Regions from separate parts of the Homo sapiens genome. Here regions 1, 2, 3, 5 and 6 are each linked to region 4. The links are contacts of gene promoters, found by promoter capture Hi-C in blood cells and fetal thymus (Javierre and others, 2016). All regions are on one chromosome and are shown on one strand. The core of a region is centred on a gene start or on the middle of the fragment in contact, and the rest is flanking DNA. Distances in the headings are between cores, read along the strand shown.

Region 1 (4,863 bases), core at 1,346-3,845, 890 kb after region 4:
TTAACAGAAGTCAAGGCATCAAATACGCACTCGAAATATTTCCTTTGCAATCAAAGGGAAAAAGGGCAAATCATGTTTGCCTGCTAAATGATGCTTCAAGTTATTTTTCAAAATAAAAACGACAGCCCACAGGGAAAATAATATATGAGATGGTGACTGACTAGGAATTTAAGAGAGGTATGCACTTAAACCTTGACGCTAACCCTTGTGTGACAGTGTGAGGCTGTCCCCACGCTGAGTCTGCTGTGCTCTTACCGTAAGCGTGGCTGTGTTCTCATCATCAGACCACTGCATGAAAAAGAGGAAAAAAATAAAACATTAAATTTAAATACTGCACTGGGCTTCAAAAAGCAGTGCTCCATCTAAAAATTATAAATCAAACAGGAGACATCTTTTCCGGAATACAGCATATGTGAAAATATATGTCAAAGTAAGATTCTCACGTAATTTCTCATTTTATCAGATGTAAGATAAGATCTACAAGTCAGAACCATCTCAGAGATCATTTAAATTACAACAGTCTACAGAACAGATTATTTTATTTGGTACCAACCTGTATTTCTTCTGCTTCATCATCACTGTCTGGCTGAGAATGTGTTGGTGGATCATCCCTAAAAAAACACAAACAAACATCAAGAAAGAAAAGGACTTGGGCACCGCATGCTCCTAATTTCAGGGGTACTGAGTATATGTTTTTAAATAGCCTTAAAATTAGGCTAGGTGTGGTGGCTCACACCTGTAATCCTAGCACTCTGGCAGGCTGAGTGAGTGGATCGCTTGAGGTCAGGAGGTAGAGATCAGCTTGGACTACATGGCAAAACCCTGTCTCTACAAAATACACAGAAATTAGCTGGGCGAGGTGGCATGCGCCTGTAGTCCCAGCTATTTGGGGGGCTGAGGTGGGAGGACTGATCACTTGAACATGGGAGGTCGAGGCTGCAGTGAGTTAAGATCGTGCCACTGCACTCCAGCCTGGGTGACAACGTAAAACACTGTCTCAAAAATAAATAAATAAAAATAAAAGCCTTAAAATTGAAGAACAAGGCCAGTCATGGTGGCTCACACCTGTAATTTCAGCACTTTGAGAGGCTGAGATGGGAGGATTGCTTGAGCCCAGGAGTTTGAGACCAGCCTGGGTAACACAGAGACTCTGTCTTTACAAAAAAATTAAAAATTATCCAGGTGTGAAGGAGAACACCTGTGGTCACAGCTATTCAGGAAGCTGACACAGAAGGATCCCTTGAGCCCAAGAGTTTGAGGCTACAATGACCTAAGATCACACCGCTGCACTATAGCCTGGGCAAGAGAGTGAGACCCCGTCTCAAAAAAAGAAGAAATAAATAAATGAGAGTACAGTTGCATGAAGAGATGACAGAATAAAACCTTTCTGTCCTGTTCTCAGATATCATTAAAAACAAGGGAAAGGGAAAAAAAGACTCCATTGCTGATAATACTGAGAATCATCTAGACTCTGAACCTCAGTATATGAGAAAGTTCTCTCAAGAAAGGAAAGATGGAATAGGATAAAGGAAGACACCAGAAGCGAATGTCTGAAGACCTGTCTACACAGATGATGGAACTACTGTGGGGGCAAAACCAAGAATCTTTTCTTTGCACAGTGAAAACAGGGTGTGCGGGCTGGTGTCAGAAATTCATTCTGCATCTAGACTGAACCACAGCAAAGGGTGAGAGAGAGAGGGGAAAATAAACAGGCATGCTGTCTTTGAAGAAGGCAGAAGCAAAGCGAGGTGTGCAGTCCTCATTAGGGAAGAGGAGTTGGACTGGCGGGAGCAGAAGAAAGCAAAAAGACAAGGCAGATAAGCTGTAAGTCTGCCTTTCTTCATGGTCCAGGACACACAGCCCTCCTGCGCAAGTAACTCACTATCTTTCCATGCCCAGCTATTACCGCACCCTCAATTGACAGAAAAATGCAAGTGAGCTCACTGCAACCTTGGCATTATCAGCGCTGCACAAAGCCCTCTTCAGGACACAGCACAAGTACCATCTTATAAAATCCCCAGCAAGCCTCTGTCTCCCTGCAGTCAGCTCCTTTCTTGCTGACCTGCCCATTGTACCCTTGCAACATATTTTCACACTTTCTCTAATAAATTTGCCTTTCTCTGCCTCCAACTGTCATGGTAAATTCTTCTTACCACCCACACCATTGGCCCCAAATAGTCACTGCTCACCTGCAACACAAGGGCTGAAAAGGGCCACCCAGCAGCCCATCTTCATTGCCTAGAGGGAATCAGAGGCTGAAAGAACTCAGAGGGAAGACTCAGAACACCACTCTGGCCCCTCCTCAACACACAACTACAAATAACTAGCCTAGGAATAACTCATATCATTGAGAAAAATAATCATAAAAACTAGCATAGCAGCTATGCAAAGACTAAAGAAAGAAAAGGAAAAGGAAGATTCTGGTTAAACATGTGCTTTTATCTCTGTGTTCCCTCTGGAAACTCTACTAAAAAAAAGATCCCAAGGACAATGCTGAGTGAAAAGGAATCAACCATAGAAGAAAGAGGGCAACAAAAGTTTGGAAAACAGAAAGTCAAGGGGAGGAATAAGCCAAGGAGCAACAGGTTAGAACTTAAGAGTTATCCTGGAACATGGAAAGGAAGCTCTGAAGTCCATCCAGGGAGCAGCGAGACATATCCATCTCCTTACCTTGCACATCCTAGCAACTAATTCTCCTCAGCCCCTTTGGTAAGCAGATTTATTCTCTGGAAAAAATGAACTCAAGAGGGTTGAGGTACATAATGGCCCAAATGAATATGGGGGTGAAATGCTGGACCTGGACTATGATGACAAGTTATGTGAAAGTCAAACTGAACACTGCGACCCCTAGTCCCCTTCCTCCCACCCTGCTCCCACAACACAGACAGATTAAAGGATTCTTCTGGGCAGAAACTGAGCAACCCCAGAGGACACACCATTATCTGGGAATCTTCCATCAATGTTTGCTGCCTGCTGGCATCCTCAGGCATCAAGCTCCACCCAGGTACACAAAGTTTGCAAATATCTGTGTGTGTCCTCCTCACTCTTAAATATGAAGGAAGGCCTACAATGATTAGAAAACAGACAAAAAACTCCAAGATGAAAAACGTTTTCAAAAAGGAGAGAAAAAAGGGACATGGAAGAAAAAAAGACAATAAAGGGACCAGATGAAAGATATTTTTAAAAATCATTAATATCCTCGAATATAAAAGATGTCACATCCATTAAGGAAGAACAGGAGGCTATAAAAAAGGAACAGAGGAACTTGTAGACACTGAAAACATGATAGTTGAAATTTTAAAATTCAATAGAATGGAAAAATAATTACCTACAAAGTAGAACAAAAAAGACACGGAAAGAGAAAATAGAGAAGAAATAATAAAATTCAGAGAATTAAGCCAAAAGATCAAACACCAAAATAATAGGAGATCCAGAAAGAGAAGCAAGAAATTAGAGGAAATTATCAAAGATTCTTTTTTAATATCCTGAAACAGGAAAATTAAAGTCTTTAGAATGAAAGGGCTCACCAAGTACTTAACACAATAAATGGAGAAAAAATACCTTAAATGGGCAAAAATGGATACAATAATGCTTCCAATCTTTTTTTTTTTTTTTTTTTGAGATGGAGTCTCGCTCTGTTGCCCACGCTGGAGTGCAGTGGCGTGATTTCAGCTCATTGCAAGGTCTACCTCCCGGGTTCAGGCCATTCTCCTGCCTCAGCCTCCCGAGTAGCTGGGACTCCAGGCGCCCGCCACCACACCCGGCTAATTTTTTTGCATTTTTAGTAGAGATGGGGTTTCACCGTGTTGGCCAGGATGGTCTCGATCTCCTGACCTTGTGATCCGCCCTCCTTGGCCTCCTAAAGCACTGGGATTACAGGCATAAGCCACCGCATCTGACCTCATGCCCAGATAATTTTTGTATTTTTACTAGAGATGGGGTTTCGCCATGTTGGTCAGTCTGGTCTCAAACTGCTGGCCTCAGATAATCGAACCGCCTTGGCCTCCCAAAGTGCTGGGATTACAGGCATGAGCCACTGCACCCGGCCTTCCCCAAGTTTTAATCAACTCTTTGTAATTCTTGCTTTTCCAGATTCACAAAGCTAAGAACCAGTCAAAGCTAAGAACTGTTCTATAGTGGAAATACTAACACACTGTCAGCGTGTGAATCCCTGCCCAAGGGGCCAGCCTTTCTCTCTTACGTCTCTCTTTAAATGCCACATAATATTTTCAAATGCAACATTATCTTTAACATGGCTGCTTACCTAATCTTACAATATAAGATGAAATATGAAAATGTATTCTACCACTCTAAAAATCACTTACCATATTTGTTAGTATAACAACATACATTTTAAAAAACATACTTGTTATCAAGGTATTCATATAGTTCTTCAGAAATTATTGCAGTGCCTACTGTAAAGTATGACAAATTTTATTCACTGTAAAAGGTGACAATGTATAAAAATATGCAAGTTTGGCCAAGTACGGTGGCTCACGCCTGTAATCCCAGCACTTTGGGAGGCCAAGGCGGGTGGATCATGAGGTCAGGAGTTCAAGACTAGCCTGGCCAAAATAGTGAAACCCCATCTCTACTAAAAATACAAAAAAAATTAGCTGGGCGTGGTCGCAGGCACCTGTAGTCCCAGCTACTCAGGAGGCTGAGGCAAGGGAATCGCTTGAACCCGGTAGGCAGAGGTTGCAGTGGGCCAAGATCGTGCCCCTGCACTCCAGCCTAGGTGACACAGTGAGACTCTGCCTCAAAAAAAAAAAAAAAGTGAAAGTTTATTAGACTTGGCTTTCTAAGGTAACCCTCTGCATGCAGAGAACTAAATGGATAAAGTATGGTGCTAATATTTAGGAT
Region 2 (4,323 bases), core at 1,667-4,166, 910 kb after region 4:
TGGCTGGGTGTGATGGCTCACCCCTGTAATCCCAGTGCTGTGGGAGGCCGAGGTGGGTGGATCACTTGAGGTCAGGAGTTCGAAACCAGCCTGGCCAATATGGTGAAACCCCGTCTCTACTAAAAATGCAAAAATCAGCCGGGTGTGGTGGTACAGGCCTGTAATCCCAGCTGTTCAGGAGGCTGAGGCAGGAGAATTGCTTCAACCTGGGAGGTGGAGGTTGCAGTGAGCCGAGATCATGCCATTGCACTCCAGCCTGGGTGTTGCAGCGAGATTCAGTCTCAAAAAAAAAAAAAAAAAAAAGGCTTTATCATTTTCCTCACTGCCTCCCAAGGGGATGTGTGTGTCCCTCCTTTAAAACATCCTGGTATGGTGGTGTCTCTGAGGCAGGTCTTTGCCCCAGATGTGCTTGCTAAACTGTAACGTGCTCAAGGGCAAGCATAGTGGTCAGTGTGCACTGAGTATATACACAGACGTTTCCACTGCTGGTGCTCTCGAAGCTAGTTAGAGACTGCTAGTTAGCCTGCCACTGTGCAAGACGTCTAAAAATCTTACAGCATTTCCCCTCACTAGTGTTTTTTTTATGCTCTGGAGAATTACACATCCAACACATCCTAGACCTTCAGTGTTCAAACTGAACTGAGTTAAAACGATTTATGAGAATTAAAACAGCTTGTGACTTTAAAGACTAAGGAAAATCATAAATGAAATTGTAGAACACTCGCTGGCGCGGTGACTCACGCCTGTAATTCCAGCACTTTGGCAGGCCGAGGCGGGTGGATCACGAGGTCAGGAGATCGAGACCATCCTAACACGGTGAAACCCCGTCTCTCCTAAAAATACAAAAAATTAATCAGGCATGGTGGCAGGTACCTGTAATCCCAGCTACTTGGGAGGCTGAGGCAGGAGAATGGCATGAACCCAGGAGGCGGAGCTTGCAGTGAGCGGAGATCGCGCCACTGCACTCCAGCCTGGGCGACAAGGCAAGACTCTGTCTCAAAAAAAAAAAAAAAAATTGTAGAACACTCAACATCGTGTACATGTATCTTTTTCATACCATACACATATTGGCAATATGCAAATTACCTTAAATTCTAACTAATGAAGTGGATAAAATTTATATCAAAGTTTGCTTTTAAATCTTGAAATAGCGTTGAGTCAGTGAAGGCAAACTCCGTTGCAGTGGCGGAGACGCTGGCTTACAAAGCACGGAATTTAAAGCTCATTTCTCGTTCTTTCTGCAGCGTGTTGCTGGCAGTGACTGGCCCCCGAATGGCACTATTTGGCTTCTGCTTTTGAAATGGTGCTAAAAACAACATTCCTTTTCTGTTTCTAAAAATTTCTGAGGTACTTTTACAGTCCTTCTGAAATGTTTGGGAATCTCATAGTTAAGAATATGCTCTTGAAATAGCTCATTTTTGTCATTCACGGAATCAGTGGATTGCTGCACGATACTGTTTCCCTTTGAGGCTGATTGCATTCCAAAGAAATACTCTCTTTTAGCGGCCAGGCACGGTGGTTCACGCCTGTAATCCCAGCACTTTGGGAGGCTGAGGCTGGTGGATCACCTGAGGTCAGGAGTTCGAGGCCAGCCTGCCCAACATGGCAAAACCCCATCTCTACTAAAAATGTAAAAATTAGCCGGGTGCAGTGGTAGGAGCCTGTAATCCCAGGTACTCGGGAGGCTGAGGCAGGAGAATCGCTTGAATCCGTGAGGCAGAGGTTGCAGTGAGCCGAGATCATGCCTTTGCACTCCAGCCGGGCAACAAGAGCGAAACTCCATCTCAAAAAAAAAAGTTTACCTAATAAATTATCATCTATGGTACTTTCAAAGGAATAAGTGCCTGTTTTCTTAGTAGGGCTGCAGGTTTCAATATGCTAATGTCTGTCTCTAAATATTTAAACTTCTACGTGGTTTACTTCCTTATTGCTTTCAGGTCTCCATTCAGAAGTCACCAAATTAAACAGGCCTTGCCTGATCACTCCGTGTAGATTACTCTTCCCATCTTCCCCACACTTCTCATCCTTTTTAATCTTTCTTCATGAAACGCTGAGTCACTTGACATAAATTTTGTGTTCTTCCTCACTGTTTTTCCTTTCTCCTCACTGGAAAATGAGGTCCGGGGGAGTGAGGGTCTTTGTCCCTCTCACCACCACTTTTTTTTTTTTTTTTTTTTTTTTAGATGGAGTCTTGCTCTGTCGCCAGGCTGCAGTGCAGTGGCACGATCTCAGCTCACTGCAACCTCCATCTCCTGGGTTCAAGCCATTCTCCTCCCTCAGCCTTCCCTGTAGTTGGGGCTACAGGCGCACCCCACCACGTCCAGCTAATTTTTGTATTTTTAGTAGAGACAGGGTTTCACCATGTTGGCCAGGATGGTCTCCATCTCTTGACCTCGTGATCCACCCGCCCTGGCCTCCCAAAGTGCTGGGATTGTAGGCGTGAGGCGTGAGCCACCGCACCCGGCCTCACCGCCACTTTCCTAAAACATCATCTCACCTTTCACAGGTTGGCCACAAGGGTTACCTATGATAGTCAATCAGATATTTGATTTGTAAACGCACTTTATGAATATTCATACAGTTGGTTTTGTTATTGATTGTATTTTAGAATAGGGAAGCTTGCTGTCTTGGGGACAAATTGAAGATCAGATGGGTAGTATGATCACTTTGGGTCCCAGAAGAAACAAAGAGCAGACTCACTTTTTCCTTTAGGACAGTTGGGAAGAGAGTTGATGCTGGGTGGGCTGTATTTTCTTTGAAGCCGAAGTTAGGTGGGGTAGGTTAGAGAACCGTGGAACGTAAGAGTGCAGTGGCGTGATCTCGGCTCTCTGCAACCCCCAACTCCTGGGTCCAAATGACCCTCCTGCCTCAGCTTCCTGAGTAGCTGGGACTACAGGTGCCCACCACCACACCCGGCTAATTTTTTTATTTTTTATTTTTGTGGAGACAGGGTTTTGCCATGTTACCCAGGCTGGTCTCAGACTCTTGGTCCCCCAAAGGGCTAGGATTCCAGGTGTGAGCCACTGTGCCTGGTCCAAGTAACAGTTCTTAAAAGAAACAACAGAGAAAACACAGGGGAGGAAATCATCAGTGAAGTCGTTCAAGAAAAAAATTCCCTGTAAAGAAGCATAGTAAGAAGTTTCCAGATTGAAAGGACCCACTTGACTTCCCAGTACAATAACATCGACATGAAAGTGACTAACTACAAGCTTCCAGAGGAGGAAGACAGGTCACATGGCAAAAAGATCAAGAATAAGAATAGCTTTGGACTTCTCAACAGCAGCACCAGAAGTAAGACAACTAAGCAATGCCTTACAGTTTCATAGACAACTGGCTTTGGGTCTATAATTCTATATACAGCTGAATTAACAACCATGTGTGTGGGTAAGAAAAAAAGACTTTGACCTTCGGACAGGCAAGGTCCGAAAATGAAGGAATAAAGAAAGAGGAAATAATAATATACAATAAATGGGATAAGGGCCTGCTCTTTTCATAACAGAACTTGTAGTACTACTCGATCCTTTCTCTGCAACTATGACTTTGATACATGCTGAAACTTAAAAGTAAGTGGGGAGGTGGGTCCAGTGGCTCATGCCTGTAATCCCAGCACTTTGGGACACCGAGGCGGGAGGAGGATCGCTTGAGCCCGGGAGTCTGAGACCAGCCTGTGAAACATAGTGAGACCCCACCTCTACCAAAAGTTTAAAACATTAGTTGGCTGTGGTAGCATGCACCTGTAATCCCAGCTACTCAGGAGGCTGAGATGCGAGGAGCACGTGAGCTTGGGAGGTAGAGGCTACAGTGAGCCATGATTTCGCCACTGCACTCCAACCTGTGCAACAGAGTGAGATCTTACATCTCAAAAAATAAGTAAGTTTAGGTGTAACAGATGGATAAAAGACTGAGAGGTGGGCATGGAGAGTGGTAAATCTTTCTTCTGTCTTCCCTTGGAAAGAGTTTAAGATTCGGAGTCAGAAAAATCAGGCTGGGCGCGGTAGCTCACGCCTGTAATCCCAGCACTTTGGGAGGCCAAGGAGGGCAGATCACTTGATGTCAGGAGGTTGAGAGCAGCATGGCCAACGTGGTGAAACCCTGTCTCTACTAAAAATATAAAAATTACCAGGCCTGGTGATGTATGCCTGTAATCCCAGCTACTCGGGAGGCTGAGGCACGAGGATCACTTGAACCCAGGAGGCGGAGGTTGCAGTGAGCTGAGATCGCGCCATTGCACTCCACCCTGGGCAACAGAGTGAGACTCTCTCAAAAAAAACAAAAAAGAAAAAAAAAAAAAGAAAAATCTGATGAAGAAGGGTGGCCTCTAAG
Region 3 (4,275 bases), core at 720-3,219, 930 kb after region 4:
AGGTCAGGAGCTCGAGATCAGCCTGGCCAACATGGTGAAACCCTGACTCTACTAAAAATACAAAAATTAGCCAGGCATGGTGGTGCGCACCTGTAATCCCAGCTACTCGGGAAGCTGAGACACAAGAATCACTTGAACCCAGGAGGCGGAGGTTGCAGTGAGTCAAGATCACACCACTGCACTCCAGCCCGGGCAACAGACTGAGACCCTGTCTCCAAAAAATAAATAAATAAATAAATAAATAAATAAATAAATAAATAAATAAATAAAATAAATCTTAATTTTTGAACTGCACATATACATATGAGACACTGTGGAAAAGTTTGGCAGTTCCTCAGCATATTAGATACAGAATTATTATATGATCTGGCATTTCATCTCCTAAGTCTACACCCAGAAGAAGTGAAACAGGGACTCATATACTTGCGTGCCTGTGTTCATGGCCGCCTCTGTGGAAACAACCCAGGTGTCTGCCAGCAGATGAATGCATCCACAAAGTGTGGTATACACACAAACACACATACACGCTGAAACATGCGATAACATGATGGGCAAATACTCTGATTCTACGTATCTGGGTGCCCAGAATAGACAAACTGATAGAGGAAGACAGTAGAGTAAGCGCTACTAGGGATGGGGAATTAGTGTTGAGTGGATCCCGAGTTTCTGTTGGGTGTCATGAAAAGTTCTGGAGATGGATACTGGTGGTGGTTGTGCACCTTTTTGAATGTTATTTAATGCTACTGAATTGTACCTTCATAGTGGTTAAAAGGTAAGTTTTTATATGTTCTGTATATTTTACATAATACGCAGATTCATATCTATAAAAATATACATACTATCGAATATGCTTTAAATTTTGCTACTTAACATTATGTGGAGAACAATAACTTCATACTGCTCGAGTTTGACAATGTATATAAATTAAGTTAGCAGAAACCCAGGCTTCTGTGAAATTCTCAAAGCCTTTTTGACGCCTCTTGTATAAAAGTCTTCCGATGTTACCACTCCAGGCCTTGCTGAAATGTTTTCCTTCTGTTTATTTCCAGGGGATGGAGGTATGTTCTGCAACTCCTGGTGGCCGAGCGTGTATGACTTAGTGTAGTGGTGATGGCTGCAGACATTTTGGGTTGTTTTGGTAGGCTCTTGACGTTAGCTTTGTTTTCACTTGCACTTTGTCTGTTTAGAGTTTGTGGAAGTCATTTCTTTACCCAAGAATGACCTGCTGCAGAGACTTGATGGTAAGCATTCTCCAGACCGCCACCCAGTTTCTCCAGTTCTCCCCGTCCCCATCCCAGCAAACTGGGTACTAAATATAACTCCATTTCTTTATCTTTTTTGTATCACTAAAGTCAAATGCCTAGCAACTTGTAAAACTGCAGGTGACCACTACTAATTTTCCTTTCTGGGTGGCACAGAGTTTGAAAATAAGAGCAAAGCATTCTGGGTCAAGTGCAAACTTTTGGTAGAGGCTTTTTCTCCTACAGAATGGCCCAGATGACATTCCTGCTGAGTAGCCAAAACGATTCTACACTTTAAACCTTCAGTCCATAGCAATGCAAAGGTGTGGGTAGATAAGCTGTTAGCTTTTCCTCAAGTATGCTAGTATGAGGGATGGTCCTTTGTGGAGGCTGTATGTTCAAGGAGAAATTGATGATGCTCCTTCAACAAATACTTGAGGTATTTCCTGTATACTCCGTGTGATATGCTTTTCACATAATAAACCAAACCAGCTGTGTGGCCCTTAGAAATCACTGGTCATGTAGATGCATTGTATAATTCTTGGCCACCCATCTTTTAGAGACTTTGTAAACAGTAAGCTTATGGGGAGAAAAGTCCTTTGATAAAACCACGAGAGGAGATACTGTATGGAGACATGAGGAGATACTGTGTGGAGACGAGGAGATACTGTATGGAGACATACCATGGGCCCTTCAAGGAGCACCTCTGTATGGGCTGGCAAATCCCTTTCACTCATCTAGAAAGAAGCAGACACTTGTCATCATGGGAATATTTTATTGGGTATAAGTGTTTTAGGTAATTGATAACTGATTTTTCTACTGTTTTTAAGTGATTACTTCAAATGTGATTTGAAGCATTGTTTGGCCTGAAGCTTTAAGACCAGTTTCTTAAGCTTTTCCCTGAGTTTCAGCAGCTTACGGTTTCAGTGAATAAGCAGAGCGCCTGGTTTTGAATTGTCTGTTGTTTGTTTGAAAATCTGAATGTGTCTTTCAAAGGCTGCTGTGATTTCTTTGGATAAAATCAGATTTCGTATCCCTTAGAGAGCTTCCACTCCTGCTTCACCTTTCCAAAAACTAGACCTAAGGTAGAAGCCACCTCGACAGCTCAAAGCCAGAGTTAGAACAATCATACTGAATAGATACAATAGTTTATCTGGTGCGTATTTGGAGAAAGGCATGACAATCAATACGAGGCAGCGCAGCTCGGAGTCACAGGCCCGACTCGGTTTGAGGCTCCGCGGACCATAATTAGCTATCACATCAAACAGGTTCTGTAGCCTCTCTCGGCTTTTTTCATAAAACAGGAACAATAACAGCCCCTCCCTCTGAGGAGGTGCGTGGAAAGCAGGGTGACGTAGGCAAGTGTGAAATGCCGTGCGGGGTTATCTTTTAGTAGAAGAGTATCCTTTTTGTAAAATGTCTTCCTTCTCCCTTCCACCTTCTTAACTTCACTTTTGGTCTTAGAAAAGGGAGAAAAAAATAGAATAAGTGAGGGGAGGTGGAGAGAGGGCTACTATGGCTATAAAGGAGGAGGGGTAAAAGAACCAAGTTGCCTAGCTTTAGCAGAATCAAAATACAGTAATCAAACCGTTTATTCAACCAGCAACATTTGAGAAGTCGGAAGGAAAGTATTACATTTTAAGATCAGTTTGCTGGCCGGGTGCGGTGGCTCACGCCTGTAATCCCAGCACTTTGGGAGGCCGAGGTAGGCTGATCACTTGAGGTCAGGAGCTCCAGACCAGCCTGGCCAACATAGTAAAACCCCATCTCTACTAAAAATACAAAAATTAGCCAGGCATGGTGGTACATGCCGGTAGTCCCAGCTACTCAGGAGGCTGGGGCAGGAGAATCGCTTGAACCCGGGAGGCGCAGGTTGCAGTGAGCCAAGATCGTGGCACTGCACTGCAGCCTGGCGACAAAGTGAGACTCCATCTCAAAAACATAAAAAAAAAATTAAAAAAAGATCAGTTTGCTACAAAGAGTAGCATCTGCCAGTTACCAAGCACCTGCTGTGCCCAGGTGAGTAGGACATGCTTCCTGCCTGCAAATGTCCCCAGGCTTGTTCCCAAACAAGCGGCTAGGAAAACAAGAGGCTGATTTTACATCTGGCAACCTCCATCTGAGTGAAACAAATTTTAATGAAAGCCTGTGGTAATAAGGTCCTGAGACCGCATTCTTGGTAGTAGATCTCCAGTCCTAACATGCACACAGTTTAACTTGCCGGGGGAACATATGTATCCCCTAGCAGCAGAAAAGATGGAATCCCTAAGATCCTACATAATCATCACCATCTGGTTTCAGAAAAGCAAAGCCCTACCCCAGCTATAAATGAGGTATAGCGATTGGCTCTATACACTTCCAACTTTGCTGTTTTCACACATAAAATCATCCCTGGCTGGGTGCGGTAGCTCACGCCTGTAATCCCAGCACTTTGGGAGGCTGAGGCGGGTGGATCACGAGGTCAGGAGATCGAAACCATCCTGGCCAACATGGCAAAAACCCCGTCTCTACTAAAAATACAAAAATTAGCTGGGCGTGGTGGCGTGCGCCTATAGTCCCAGCTACTGGGGAGGCTGAGGCAGGAGAATCGCTTAAACCCAGGAGGCAGAGGTTGCAGTGAGCCGAGATCACGCCATTGCCCTCTAGCTTGGGCAACAGAGCGAGACTGTCTCACCAAAAAAAAAAAAAATCATTATCCCTGATGTTCTTGTCTCATGCTAGGAATGTAATCTTGCCTTTATAGTCTTTATTCTTTAAGATCCTTATAGACCAAAAAAAACGTTATCACCAGCATCTAGCATAGGAAGTGACATATAGTAGTACCTGCTGCGCAAACACTGATTGAATAAGATGTTTTGTCCTTCCTTAACGGCATGATCTAAGTTGTTTTCTTTGCTTTCCACAGCTCTGGTAGCTGAAGAACATCTCACAGTGGACGCCAGGGTCTATTCCTACGCTCTAGCACTGAAACATGCAAATGCAAAGCCATTTGAAGTGCCCTTCTTGAAATTTTAAGCCCAAATATGACACTGGC
Region 4 (4,262 bases), core at 107-2,606:
CATGGCCAGAATACTTATGCGCCTCTACCTAAGTAAGGGCGGGGGTTCGGCAGGACATAATACAGTGTCCAGTTGCCCTCGAGAATAAAGTTTGGTTTTCCGGGGGTGGGTGGGGGGGTGGGGGGGTGGAGGTTAGGTTAGTTATATTCCTAGCATAATATGCAACCTAAAGGTTAGTTTATAAAAAAAGAAGCTGTTACTTTTATTGTGTTGTACGTAATATATAAAGAACGCCTAAAATTGGCCCAGTGGAAAAACAGATGAATTATGCCAGGACTTAAATCAATGATCGTCCTCTGTCTACAGGTCACATTTAAACTTGCCTTGTCCACTCCAGGGCAATCCCTGGCCTTGGGGTCTGCCCTGGGACTTCTCCAGCCCCCGCCCCAAAACTGGGCCTGTCCTGGGAGGCAGCCTGGCACCACTAACTCTTCTCTCCCTGGGTCAAAAGAGCAAGGTGGGTTCTTCTGTTCACACAGCCTGCACCTTGCTAACCAGATCCAAAGGCTTCTGAGGTCCTCACATTGCCTTACTTTTCTATGCTTTCATTTTCCATTTCATCCTTACAAACAGTTCCTTGGTGTACATTTCCATACAACAGTTTTCCTGCTGGTGGAGGCCAGGTCGGAACCTGGGTTTCATTTTCTTTGAGCGATGTTTACTTCCTGTAGCTTATGCATTTCGATGGCAAAAACAATTCCTTTGGGGTTCTCGGCCTCATCAAATATTCTCTCTATATAGAGTGTACACACTCTCCTAGACACAGCAGTCTATGTGGATTCCCACCGACCCTGGGCACCTCATTCAGCTCGGGTAGTGGTCCCATGTCTCCCACAGGCGTGTCTGTAACCACCTCCTTATGGCGAGGAACTGGCTGCGGAATCCTTCCCAGCCTGCGGGAGGACGTCACCTCCAAGTCTCTGGGTGACTTGTAGAGGGGTTACCTGCGGCCAAGAGGCCGGCCCTGGACCCTTCTTGGGCCCACCCTGTGTTCACTACCCACCCTCTCCCACCAGGTCAGGACCCGCCGAGGCTTGGGGATCCTCCCAGGGCAGCCGTCTCGCGGGAGGGCCGCCCCACCCCTCGCCACCCTCACCCCGACAGGCTCCGGGCCGCGGGGCAGGGCGGCGGGTACCGTTTTCAGGCCGCGGAAGCGCCCGCCGGGAAGGAGCCGCCGCCCCCTCGCCCACCGCTGCAGCCCCCTGCCCTGGCTCACCTGCCGCCCGGCTTGGCTTCGCTCAGGGTCACTGTTTCCTCGGCATCGTGCCGCCTGGAGAGAACTCCCGACCGGGATGGGACGCTGACCAGGGAACCTGCCGGCGGGCGGCGGCGGTGGCGGAGGGGGCAGCCGGGACTGGGGTGCCTAGGGCTGATGCGCGGCCTGGCGACCCCGCCCAGCGCGGCTCAGCTGACAGCCAGCCGCTCCCTGCCCGCGCCGGGGAATTTCCCGGGCCCCGCCCATCCCATACCCCGCCCATCCCCCCCACCCTGCCCATTCCATACCCCACCCGACCAAGGCCCCGCCCCTCCTCTTTCCTGCGTCCGCCCCCAGCTACCCACCCTCGCTGTCCGTGCGGGGTCGAGGCTGGGACCCGGGTGAACAGGGACTGCTCTAAGGCGTCACTGTGACGGCGTTAATCAAAATAAATCATTAATCAAATGCAGTGTGCGGAGTTCGTCTTCCCCGTGTCTTCCCGCAGATCCCGTAGTGGAGGCTGGAGCCGCAGGGGGTCGCTGCCGCCCACAGAAAGAGGAGAATGCCAGGCATCCTCGGAGGGAGGCCTCCATCTGTGTTTTTTGAAAAAAGGTTAACATCTAGACATAGTTAACTGAGCATACATAGCTTTCCACTCGTTTTTGCTTTAAAATACACTCAAAAAGCAGAAAGCCTGCAGGATGCTTCTTGGGCTCTTGTTGCGGACGAATAGGCTCGGCTATTCTTGTTGCTGAAGAATAGCCTCTGCTGGTGTGGAGGAGGGAAGCTGCCCCCGGATTAGACAGCAGGATGACAAGGTAGGAGCGAGAGCCGCCCTATGTGCATCCAGAGTACCCGGGTAGCGCTGCAGGGATGGGAGGGAGGGAAGGAGGGAGGGGGAGAGAGAGAGAGAGGGAGGGACGGAGAGAGGGAGAGAGGGAGGGAGAGAGGGAGGGAGGGAGAGAGGGAGAGAAAAAAAACAAAACAACAACAACAAAACCTAATCTGAAACAGGAAAAAGGCAGATGCGCCCTCTCCTGGTATCTCCGAAGGATTCTGCTTCGCTGTCTGGACCTCCTGCTGCCTGGCCAAGCCTGACTCTCAACCCTGCCCCTGAGGCTAACCCCAAGAGCAGGGCAGAGAAGCAAGCAAGTCAGCGACTGCCCCAGACCCAATTCCGGGCCCTCGAGTTGGTGTGGTGTAGGAGGGGCAGATGAGGCTAGAGGCTGCTTTATAAGGAGTGAGCCTGGGGGTGGGAGTGGGGAGAAATAGAGAATTTAAAAAAATTCTTTTTATATCAGTGCAGGAGGGCCAGGCGCGGTGGCTCACGCCTGTAATCCCAGCACTTTGGGAGGCCAAGGCAGGCAGATCGCAAGGTCCGGAGTTCGAGACCAGCCTGGCCAATATGGTGAAAGCCTGTCTCTACTAAAAATACAAAAATTAGCCGGGCATGATGGTACTCTCCTGTAGTCCCAGCTACTCGGGAGGCTAAGGCAGAAGAATCGCTTGAACCCGGGAGGCAGAGCTTGCAGCGAGCCGAGATCATGCCACTGCACTCCAGCCTGGGTGACAGAGTGAGACTCCGTCTCAAAAAAAAAAAAAAAAAAAAAAAATCAGTGCAGGAAATAACTGATCATTCATGAAAAGGGCTTGGAAAAATATATACAGAGAGAAATGGAATGACGATCTCTAATTTTTGTTTATCTACTGGGATAATCCAGGCAGAAAAGACGGTGTCACAGCTGTACCCTGGGATCGGCAGAAAAGGGTCCCCCCGGGGCCTGTAAGGGGTGCCTGCGGTAAGTCGTACTTCACTAGGCTCCTTTTACTGTTTAAAACCCTATAGGTGGGGCACGGTGGCTCACACCTGTAATCCCAGCACTTTGGGAGGTCAAGGCAGGAGGATCGCTTGAGCCCAGGAGGGAGAGGCTGCAATGAGCTGTGATTGCAGCACTGCACTCCAGCTTGGGTGAGAGGGAGACTTTGTCTCAAGCAAAAACAAAAACGAGAACAAAACAACACTATGAAAGTGAATTAAAATGAGCATCAGTGAAACTCAGAGCCAAGAGAAGAAGGTCACCCACAAGCTGCCCATGGCTTTGGTGTGGGAGGCTCGAGGTGAGTTTCTGGTACAGAAAGCAGTCAAAGTTGTTTTCTCCTGATTCCTTGCTCTCAGTGGTGGGGTCGGGGTGGGGGGTGCCCTGAAGCACTGCACACACACATGCACACACACTCCCCCGACAACCACTTCTTAGCTGTAGGACCTTGACCAAGTTACTTCATCTTACCCTTCCTCATTCCCTTTATCTGTAAAATGGGGAGTATAGTACACTCCCAAATCCAGAAAGTTCTAAGGACCAAACCTCTTTTCTGACCAGACCCAACTGATGGAAAGCTATTTACAGTCTTTATTTAGATCCCTTGATGTGATTTTTAAATTTGTTTTGTGAAGGAAAATCGAATAGTTGATAGGAGAACTGCGTCAGACAGTGTCAGGGTGTTATGTGATATAAATCCCATTTATTGAATAGCCTTTTGAAAATCCCCAGAATTCTGGACTCTAAAGCAGAGCTTGCCCCAAAGGTTTTATTTTATTTTTTGAGGTGGAGTCTCACTCTGTTGCCCAGGCTGGAGTGCAGTGGCATAATCTCAGCTCACTGCAATCTCCACCTCCTGGGTTTGAGTGATTCTCCTGCCTCAGCCTCCCAAGTGGCTGGGATTACAGGCGTGTGCCACCACACCAAGCTAATTTTTGCATTTTTCGTATTGATGAGGTTTCGCCATGTTGACCAGCCTGGTATTGAACTCCTGACCTCGGGTGATCCACCTGCCTCGGCCTTCCAAAGTGCTGGGATTACATGTGTGAGCCACGGTGCCCAGCCACCCAAAAATTTTAGATAAGGCCTCTGGACCCACAGCCCTCACCTAAGGATGCTGAGAAGATTAAAGAGGAAATACGTCTTCAACACCTAGAAGAACGCCTGGCTCATGGTGTTTGTTGCTGTTGCTTGTGTTAGAGCCGGTTCTGTTTCTTAGCCTGGATCATCCCGTTTGGTGACTCCATCTT
Region 5 (4,421 bases), core at 1,824-4,323, 870 kb after region 4:
AACTAACTTAACAGTACATTATCTTGAGGACTAATAATCTAAAACTAGAAAACTAGCTTTCGATTAAAAATTATTTTAATAATAATTAAGCTTAACAGTTATTTTACGTCAATAAAAATTAAGGACTGGGCACAGGGCTCACACCTGTAATCCCAACACTTTGGAAGGCTGAGGTGGGAAGACTGCCTAAAGCCAGGAGTTTGAGACCAGCCTGGGCAACAAAGCTAGGTCCCGCCTCTAAAAAAAATATAAAAATTAGCCGGTACGGAGGCTCAAGCCTGTCATCCCAGCTACTCAGAAGGCTGAGGCGGGAAGATCACTTGAGCTCCGGAGTTTGAGGCTGCAGTAAGCTATGATCACACCATTGCACTCTAGCCCAGAGTGAGATCCTGCCTCAAAAATTAAGGTCATGAACTCTCACAAGTTAATAAAAATTAACTAATTATTTTTATCCTTTAAAAAACTGCCCTTTCGCCCCCAAGGATCAGCATATTGATAAGTACTACATGTATCTAGAGCTTTCCTCTATACGTTTTCTATTATTTAAGAAAATTATTTTTGGACTGGGTGCGGTGACTCACGCCTGTAATCCCAGCACTTTGGGAGGCTGAGGTGGGCGGATCACGAGGTCAGGAGTTTGAGACCAGCTTGGCCGACATGATGAAACCCCATCTCTACCAAAAATACAAAAATTAGCTGGGCATGGTGGCACATGCCTGTAAGCTCAGCTACTTGGGAGGCTGAGGCACGAGAATCCCTTGAACCCAGGAGTTGAAGGTTGCAGTGATCTGAGATCGTGACACTGCACTCCAGCCTGGGCAATAGAGTGAGACTCTGTCTCATAAAGAAAAAAAAAAAAGACAGAAAATTACTTTTGTACACATATCCAGTATAGAGCCAAATGAATATTTTAGATTAGATAATCTACATAAGGAGAAAAGGAAAACGTTCCAATGAATGTAAGAGAACAATAGACCAGAGGTTAAAAATCACAATCAGGACCTTGGGCTCCGTACTAGTATTTTATGGTCTTAGAAAAGTCAATTATTCCTCCCCTCCCCCTCCCCCTCCCCCTCTCCCCATGGTCTATCTCTCCCTCTCCCTCTCTCTCCACGGTCTCCCTCTGATGCCGAGCAGAGGCTGGACTGTAGTGCCGCCATCTCGGCTCACTGCAACCTCCCTGCCTGATTCTCCTGCTTCAGCCTGCCGAGTGCCTGGGATTGCAGGCGCACGCCGCCACGCCTGACTGGTTTTCGTATTTTTTTGGTGGAGACAGGGTTTTGCCGTGTTGGTGGGGCTGGTCTCCAGCTCCTAACCGCGAGTGATCTGCTAGCCTCGGCCTCCCAAAGTGCCGGGATTGCAGACGGAGTCTCGCTCACTCAGTGCTCAATGTTGCCCAGGCTGGAGTGCAGTGGTGTGATCTCGGCTCGCTACAACCTCCACCTCCCAGCCGCCTGCCTTCGCCTCCCAAAGTGCCGAGATTGCAGCCTCTGCCCAGCCGCCACCCCGTCTGGGAAGCAAGGAGCGTCTCTGCCTGGCCGCCCATCGTCTGGGATGTGAGGAGCCCCTCTGCCTGGCCGCCCAGTCTGGGAAGTGAGGAGCACCTCTTCCCGGCCGCCATCCCGTCTAGGAAATGGGGAGCGTCTCTGCCCAGCCACCCATCGTCTGAGATGTGGGGAGCGCCTCTGCCCCGCAGCCCATCGTCTGGGATGTGAGGAGCGCCTCTGCCCCGCCGCCCCGTCTGGGATGTGAGGAGCGCCTCTGCCCAGCCGCGACGCTGTCTGGGAACTGAGGAGTGTCTCTGCCCAACCTCCACCCCGTCTGGGAGGTGAGGAGCCTCTCTGCCCGGCCGCCCCGTCTGAGAAGTGAGGAGCCCCTCCGCCCAGCAGCCGCCCCGTCTGGGAAGTGAGGAGCGTCTCCACCCAGCAGCTGCCCCCTCCAGGAGGTGGGGGAGAGCCCCCACCCGGCCAGCCGCCCCATCTGGGAGGGAGGTGGGGGGCAGCCCCCGCCCGGCCAGCCGCCCCGTCCAGGAGGGAGGTGGGGGGCGCCTCTGCCCAGCCGCCACGCCGTCTGGGAGGTGTACCCAACAGCTCATTGAGAACGGGCCATGATGACGATGGCGGTTTTGTTGAGTGGAAGGGGGGGAAGTGTGGGGAAAGGAAAGAGAAATCAGATTGTTGCTGTGTCTGTGTAGAAAGAAGTAGACATGGGAGACTCCATTTTGTTCTGTACTAAGAAAAATTCTTCTGCCTTGGGATGCTGTTAATCTATAACCTTACCCCCAACCCCGTGCTCTCTGAAACATGTGCTGTGTCCACGAAGGGTTAAATGGATTAAGGGCGGTGCAAGATGTGCTTTGTTAAACAGATGCTTGAAGGCAGCATGCTCCTTAAGAGTCATCACCACTCCCTAATCTCAAGTACCCAGGGACACAAACACTGCAGAAGGCCGCAGGGTCCTCTGCCTAGGAAAACCAGAGACCCTTGTTCACATGTTTATCTGCTTACCTTCCCTCCACTATTGTCCTATGACCCTGCCAAATCCCCCTCTCTGAGAAACACCCAAGAATGATCAATAAATACTAAAAAAAAAAAAAAAAAAAAAAAAAAAGAGAGAAGCTAGAAAAAAAAAAGAGAAAAGTCAATTATTTTTTGGGACTGGCTCATAGTTGCCTCAGCAGTAAATGGCAGATGGTATTGGGTGATTTCTAAAGTTCATTATGCAATCAAATCTGTAGACAACTTGTCAGGCCCGCTTTTTCTTCCCTGTCTTTATATTCAGTTAACTACTTACTGCACGCTGAACCTCAGGGTGTGTCAGAGCTTCTAGAACACAGGTTTGAAAATGAGAGAGTGGAATGAGATGATTTTTCAAAATACTTCCCCAGAGATTCCAATCCAAAGTGTCCAAGATGGGGACTAGACACATATTTTCTTTTCTTTTATTCATTTATTTATTTTTTTGAGACAGAGTCTCACTCCGTGGCCAGGCTGGAGCGCAGTGGCACGATCTTGGCTCACTGCAACCTCCGTCTCCCGGGCTCAAGCAATTCTCCTGCCTCAGCCTCCCAAGTAGCTGGGATTACAGGCGTGTGCCACCAAGCCCAGCTAATTTTTGTATTTTTAGTAGAGATGGGGTTTCATCGAGTTGGTCAGGCTGGTCTCAAACTCCCGACCTTAGGTAATCCACCTGCCTCGGCCTCCCAAAGTGCTGGGATTACAGATGTGAGCCACCGCACCCAGCCCATATTTTAGAAATCATTATTCTGAGGAGTAGCTGCAGTTCAAGCTCTGTAAGGGGTTCTTGGGAAAAGCGCCAGGATATGCCTGTCCACCAACTACAGGCCTCAGCAGGAAGTCTGCACCATTCTTGGGGAAAGGAAGAAATAGGGAAAAGGAAGGAAGCATCAAACTGGAGCAGCTCGGACCCCAAGCATAGCCTTCAGGGCCGCAGCTTCAGCTAGAAAACTCAGTCTGGCTACCCTAAATCCCACCAAGGTCACTGGAGGACTCAGCACATTTCCCACGACAAAAAGGCTCCGTCTCAAGAAAAAACAAAAACAAAAACAAAAAAACCACCACCACCACAAAATATTCCCCAAATTTTTTTCCTGGGTTACTATTTAACATTAATTTGGAAGATTTCTTCAACTGAAATTTTCAACAAAGTACCAAAAGAACGTGGTATTCAACTACAGTCACTAATTTGTAGTCTAAGCTGAAAGGAGGCTCTTATGTTGAATTCAAAGTTCAAATTCTTGGCAGAATAATTATAGTCCCTCTAGCAAGCTATGAAAATTCTAAAATAAACACAAATGTGATTAAGTAATAAATGTTACATTATTTACAATGTAAGTGGCAAACTAAAAGAATTCTCAGGTATAATAATAGCAAAGATTTTATTCCAAAGAAAAAAAAAGCAAAATCCCAAAGGCCTACTTTGATGAAAGCTACTATGAAATTATGCCAGCATATTTTTACTACACTTTAATATTTGCCAGTTAACAGGAATTTTGGAAAGCAATGTTATAGACACAAATTTTTAGAAAGGAAAGAAAAAAAAAAAGAAAGGAAAAGAAAAAATATTCTATCCCCAAACTAAAGAAATATGCTTAACTAGTACTGATGACTAATCAGATGTCTTTTTTTTTTTTTTAAGGAACAAAATAATGGCATTTGCAGCAACCTGGATGGAACTGGAGACTATTATTCCAAGTGAAGTAACGCAGGAACGGAAAACCAAACATCGTATGTTCTCACTTGTAAGTGGGAGCTAAGCTATGAAGACGCAAAGGCATAAAAATGATACACTGGACTTCTGGGACTCAGGGGAAAGGGTGAGGGTTGGCGAGGGATAAAAGACTACACGTTGGGTACAGTGTACACTGCTCAGGTGATGGGTGCACCAAAAGCTCAGAAATC
Region 6 (4,464 bases), core at 963-3,462, 840 kb after region 4:
CCAGATACTCAGGAGGCTGAGGCAGGAGAATCACTTGAACCCGGGAGGCAGAGGTTGCAGTGAGCAGAGATCATACCACTATGCTCCAGCCTGGGCAACAGAGGGGAGACTCCCTCTCAAAAGCAAAAGACAAAAACAAAAACAAGAACAAACTACTGGGCCCCAGAGATTTCAGTTTAATTGGTCTGGATGAGTATTCTCCATTGATTAAGAAAAAAATACTCTCCAGGTAATTAGAATACACAACTAGGGGCCGGGTGCAGTGGCTCATGCCTGTAATCTCAGCACTTTGAGAGGCCAAGGTGGGAGGATCCTTAGGTCAGGAGTTTGAGACCAGCCTGGGCAACATAGCAAGACCCCCCCCCCACCCCACCCAATGCACATACCTGTTTCTATGTGGAAAAAAAAAAAAAAGAAAGAAAAAGAAAAAGAGTATATGGCCGGGTGCTGTGGCTCAAGCCTGTAATCCCAGCACTTTGGGAGGCCAAGGCAGGTGGATAACGAGGTCAGGAGATCGAGACCATCCTGGCTAACACAGTGAAACCCCGTCTCTACTAAAAATACAAAAAATTAGCCGGGTGTGGTGGCGGGCGCCTGTAGTCCCAGCTACTTGGGAGGCTGAGGCAGGAGAATGACGTGAACCTGGGAGGCGGAGCTTGCAGTGAGCCAAGATCGCGCTACTGCACTCCAGCCTGGGAGACAGAGCAAGACTCCGTCTAAAAAAAAAAAAAGAAAAGAAAAAGAATATACGACTAAGACTGAGAATCTCTGGCCTAAATGAACAGATGAGCTTAAGGAGGGCATTCATATTCCAGGTGAGCAGGAAGCTTCGAGGGGAGGCAGCAAGCAGGAATGCCGCGGATATTGAAAGAACATGGAGAAGGCAGACTTGCTGGGAGCTGAGGATGTTTTAAGGGTCGTGGAAAATAAGTTTACACAGATCAGAGTGAAATTACATGGGGTATATGGAATCTATATCAAACAAGAAAGGCAGGAGGAAGATAGAAGCAGGTTTGCAAGCCCAACTGGTTGGTTATTACAGACAGACAGATGTGAGGTCCTGAGGGTACTGGATGGAGATGCAGAAAGGATCATAGAGAACACTGGGAAGGGTCCCGGCGTTGTGGATCATGCTTGTAATCCCAGCACTTTGGGAAGCTGAGGCAGGAGGATCTGCTGGAGCTCAGGAGTTCAAGACCAGCCTGGGCAACATGGCAAGACCTTGTTTCTGCTAAAAATAAAAATAAATTAGCCAGGCGTGGTGGTGTATTCCCGTAGTCCCAGCTATTCAGGAGGCTGAGGTGGGAAGATAGCTTGAGCCTCGGAAATTGAGGCTGCAATGAGTCATAATCATGCCACTGCACTCTAGCCTGGGAGACAAAAAAATAATTTTAATTTTTTTTTTTTTGAGATGGAGTTCCACTCTTGTTGCCCAGGCTAGAGTGCAATGGTGCAATCTCGGCTCACTGCAACCTCTGCCTCCCAGGTTCAAGCAATTCTCCTGCCTCAGCCTTCCGAGTAGCTGGGATTACAGGCACCCGCTGCCACACATGGCTAATTTTTGTATTTTTAGTAGAAATGGGGTTTCACCATGATGGCCAGGCTGGTCTCAAACTCCTGACCTCAGGTGATCCACCCGCCTTGGCCTCCCAAAGTGCTGGAATTACAAGCGTGAGCCATGGCACCCAGCCGGATACTGAATCTTGAGCCCAGTGTCATCAGGACAGAAGGCAGAATCTCTCTAGTAGCTAAGTCCTGGGATAGTGTCTTTTGCGTCTCCAAAGTTTTCCCAGTCTCCGTTCTCTCTGTGGAGCTTACACACTTTGCGCCAATTTCCTGAGGCACCTCACATCCTTCCAGTACATGCTTTCATTAACTAGAGTTAGTTTCTGTTGTTTGCAACCAAAACTGCTTAACTGATTGACCATACTTCTTCCCATTATTCGAGTTTTGGGGGAGCATTATTTTGCATTCAAAATCCAGAAGTGAGCAAATCATACCCTGGGATCTTTGTCTCTCCTTTCTTAAGACTCATTCGGGCCTAGCGCGGTGGTTTATGCCTATAATCTCAGCACTTTGGGAGGCGAAACCCCGTTTCTACTAAAAATACGAAAATTAGCCGGGCGTGGTGGCGGGTGCCTGTAATCTCAGCTACCAGGGAGGCTGAGATGGGAGACTTGCTTGAACCTGGGAGGCGGAGATTGCAGTGAGCCAAGATTGTGCCATTTCACCCCAGCCTGGGCTACGAGAGCAAGACTCCATCCCCCCTTCCCCCCTGCTGGCCAGAAAAAAAGATTGATTTGGACATTCTCATTTTGATTTCAAAAAAGACAAGTCTGTGGCCACCAAGGGTGATGAGAGGTGGCCATATGATGTCCTTTTCACTCCTCATACCTATAAACTCATTGAGAGGTACCAGTGACCTTTCTGCACGGACTGTCTTTTAAATTGTCTGTTTACAATGCTGTATCCATTTATACTCCATTTATTTCCCCATGAGGACCTGAGAGTGGCCAGGCATCGTGGCTCATGCCTGTAATCCCAGCACTTTGGGAGGCTGAGACGGGAGGTTCACTTGAGTCTAGGGGTTCCAAACCATCCTGGGTAACAAAAAAAATGAAAGTAAAATCAGCCAGGCATGGTGGTGTGTGCCTATAGTCCCAGCTACATCTGAGGCTGAGTTGGGAAGATCGCTTGAGGGCAGCCATTGGAGGCTGCAGTGAGCTATCATCATGCCACTGAACTCCAGCCTGGGCAATAGAGCATGACCCAGTCTCCAAAAAAAAAAAAGTATTTGAGAGTATTCCTTCCTCTCCATTCCTTCTTTCCTATGTCCCTACCTGGCGCTTTTTTTTTTTTTTTTTTTTTTGAGACAGAGTCTCGCTCTGTTGCCCAGGCTGGAGTGAAATGGCATGATCTCGGCTCACTGCAACCTGTGCCTCCTGAGTTCAAATGATTCTCCCGCGTCAGCCTCCCGAGTAATTGGGATTACAGGTGCCCAGTACCACGCCTGGCTAATTTTTGTATTTTTAGTAGAGACGGGGGTTTCGCCATGTTGGTCAGGCTGGTCTCGAACTCCTGACCTCAATTGATCCTCCCGCCTCGGCCTCCCAAAGTGCTGGGATTACAGGCTTGAGCCACTGCGTCCAGCTCCTGGTGTCCTCTTTCTTTTTTTAGACGGAGTTTCACTCTGTCGCCAGGCTGGAGTGCAGTGGCCCGATCTCGGCTCACTGCAACCTCCGACTCCCTGTTTCAAGTGATTCTCCTACCTCAGGGTCCCAGGTAGCTGGGATTACAGGCATGTGCCACCACGCCCAGCTAATTTTTGTATTTTTAGTAGAGACGAGGTTTCACCATGTTGGCCAGGATGGTCTTGATCTCCTGACCTCATGATCCACCTGCCTCGGCCTCCCAAAGTGCTGGGATTACAGGCATGAGCCACCGTGCCCGGCCTCCTGGTGTCCTCTTTCTTTGGTGACTTTTTTTTTTTTTGTAAAGAACTAAGAACTCCAATGCTCTCAGCATTACCAATACATGCAAAGGAGGCTATGCTTCTTTTGTAAGTGAGAGAAACTCAGTCTGGCTTTGGAAGCTTGAGCTTTCATTGACCTGAGATATATGCCTTTCACAAGGTGGAAAACAAATGTTCCTAAAAGCAATAACATTACTTGACATTTTTGTAGCATTTTTTGTCTTCAAAGCAATTTGTAGACATTAAAGAATAAGCTGTCAGCCCTTCCCAGATAAGAATCATTGCCTAAGTGCTTAGTACAACCCTGTCCTGTTCCTCAGACCTAAACAGTGGGCCCTGCTTATAAACTGTGGCTGAACAAAATGACTTCTTAGGAGGAGAAAACAGAGGGAGGGTGGGGGAATGAACTCAGTTGGAAGGAAGAAAAGAAGACGACCTGCAATTTATCTAGTACATATTGTGAGTCTGGGGTGACAGTTTGGAGAACACTAGGGCTTCAGCCTGGCTCTGTGCCTGTTGCCCAGGCTGGAGTGCAGTGGCACAATCTCGGCTCACTGCAACCTCCACCCCCCAAATTCAAGCAATTCTCCTGCCTCAGCCACCTGAGTAGCTGGGATTACAGGCACGTGCCAAAATGCCTGGCTAATTTTTTTGTGTTTTTAGTAGAGGCAGAGTTTCACCATGTTGGCCAGGCTAGTCTCAAACTCCTGACCTCAGGTGATCCACCCACCTTGGCCTCCAAAAGTGCTGGGATTATAGGTGTGAACCACCGCGCCAGGACTCTTCCTTTCTTTCCTTTTTATCTATTTTTTTTTTTTGCGCGGGGAGGGGAGGCGGTGCAGTGGTGAGATCATAGCTCACTGCAGCCTTGAACTCCTGGGCTCAAGCGATCCTCCTGCCTCAGCCTCCTATGTCGTTAGGACTACAGGCATGCACCAGCATGTCTGGCTAATTTGTCTTTAAAAAAAAAAAACAACTTTTTTTAGAGACAG

The links. Contacts are between HindIII fragments. The CHiCAGO score rates a contact against its expected background, and 5 or more counts as called.
Region 1: a contact is called between a fragment that was not itself captured here and the fragment with the promoter of OPTN in region 4, in 2 of 17 cell types (naive CD8 T cells and endothelial precursors). The highest score is 5.6, in naive CD8 T cells.
Region 2: a contact is called between a fragment that was not itself captured here and the fragment with the promoter of OPTN in region 4, in 1 of 17 cell types (endothelial precursors). The highest score is 5.7, in endothelial precursors.
Region 3: a fragment that was not itself captured here is called in contact with the fragment with the promoter of OPTN in region 4 in 1 of 17 cell types (endothelial precursors); the score reaches 5.8 in endothelial precursors.
Region 5: a fragment that was not itself captured here is called in contact with the fragment with the promoter of OPTN in region 4 in 1 of 17 cell types (endothelial precursors); the score reaches 6.5 in endothelial precursors.
Region 6: a contact is called between a fragment that was not itself captured here and the fragment with the promoter of OPTN in region 4, in 3 of 17 cell types (megakaryocytes, endothelial precursors and naive CD4 T cells). The highest score is 7.6, in megakaryocytes.

Annotation. Positions count from the first base shown.
Region 1 is chr10:12,205,715-12,210,577 of GRCh38, reverse strand. It overlaps CDC123 (cell division cycle 123), which reads right to left. Exons shown (of 13, transcript NM_006023.3): 3 at 554-611; 4 at 256-288. Among named protein-coding and RNA genes, the nearest start is that of CDC123, 12 kb to the right of the region's middle. The HindIII fragment of the contact is 8,609 bases long and covers 1-4,863 here.
Region 2 is chr10:12,186,587-12,190,909 of GRCh38, reverse strand. The region is part of intron 1 of NUDT5 (nudix hydrolase 5); the gene reads left to right. Among named protein-coding and RNA genes, the nearest start is that of NUDT5, 7.1 kb to the left of the region's middle. RefSeq lists an enhancer at 1-832. The HindIII fragment of the contact is 591 bases long and covers 2,621-3,211 here.
Region 3 is chr10:12,167,683-12,171,957 of GRCh38, reverse strand. NUDT5 (nudix hydrolase 5) reads left to right here. Exons shown (of 10, transcript NM_014142.4): 8 at 1,050-1,058; 9 at 1,188-1,241; 10 at 4,147-4,275. The coding sequence ends at 4,256. It also overlaps a transcript of SEC61A2 not described here. Among named protein-coding and RNA genes, the nearest start is that of NUDT5, 26 kb to the left of the region's middle. The HindIII fragment of the contact is 293 bases long and covers 1,823-2,115 here.
Region 4 is chr10:13,097,257-13,101,518 of GRCh38, reverse strand. It overlaps OPTN (optineurin), which reads right to left and starts at 1,356. Exons shown (of 15, transcript NM_001008212.2): 1 at 1,217-1,356. It also overlaps a transcript of CCDC3 not described here. RefSeq lists an enhancer at 571-700 and silencers at 981-1,550, 2,021-2,080. The HindIII fragment of the contact is 12,315 bases long and covers 1-4,262 here.
Region 5 is chr10:12,223,936-12,228,356 of GRCh38, reverse strand. All of the region lies in intron 6 of CDC123 (cell division cycle 123), which reads right to left. Among named protein-coding and RNA genes, the nearest start is that of CDC123, 30 kb to the right of the region's middle. RefSeq lists enhancers at 782-1,715, 1,716-2,651. The HindIII fragment of the contact is 5,961 bases long and covers 93-4,421 here.
Region 6 is chr10:12,254,569-12,259,032 of GRCh38, reverse strand. No RefSeq gene overlaps it. Among named protein-coding and RNA genes, the nearest start is that of CDC123, 61 kb to the right of the region's middle. The HindIII fragment of the contact is 2,765 bases long and covers 830-3,594 here.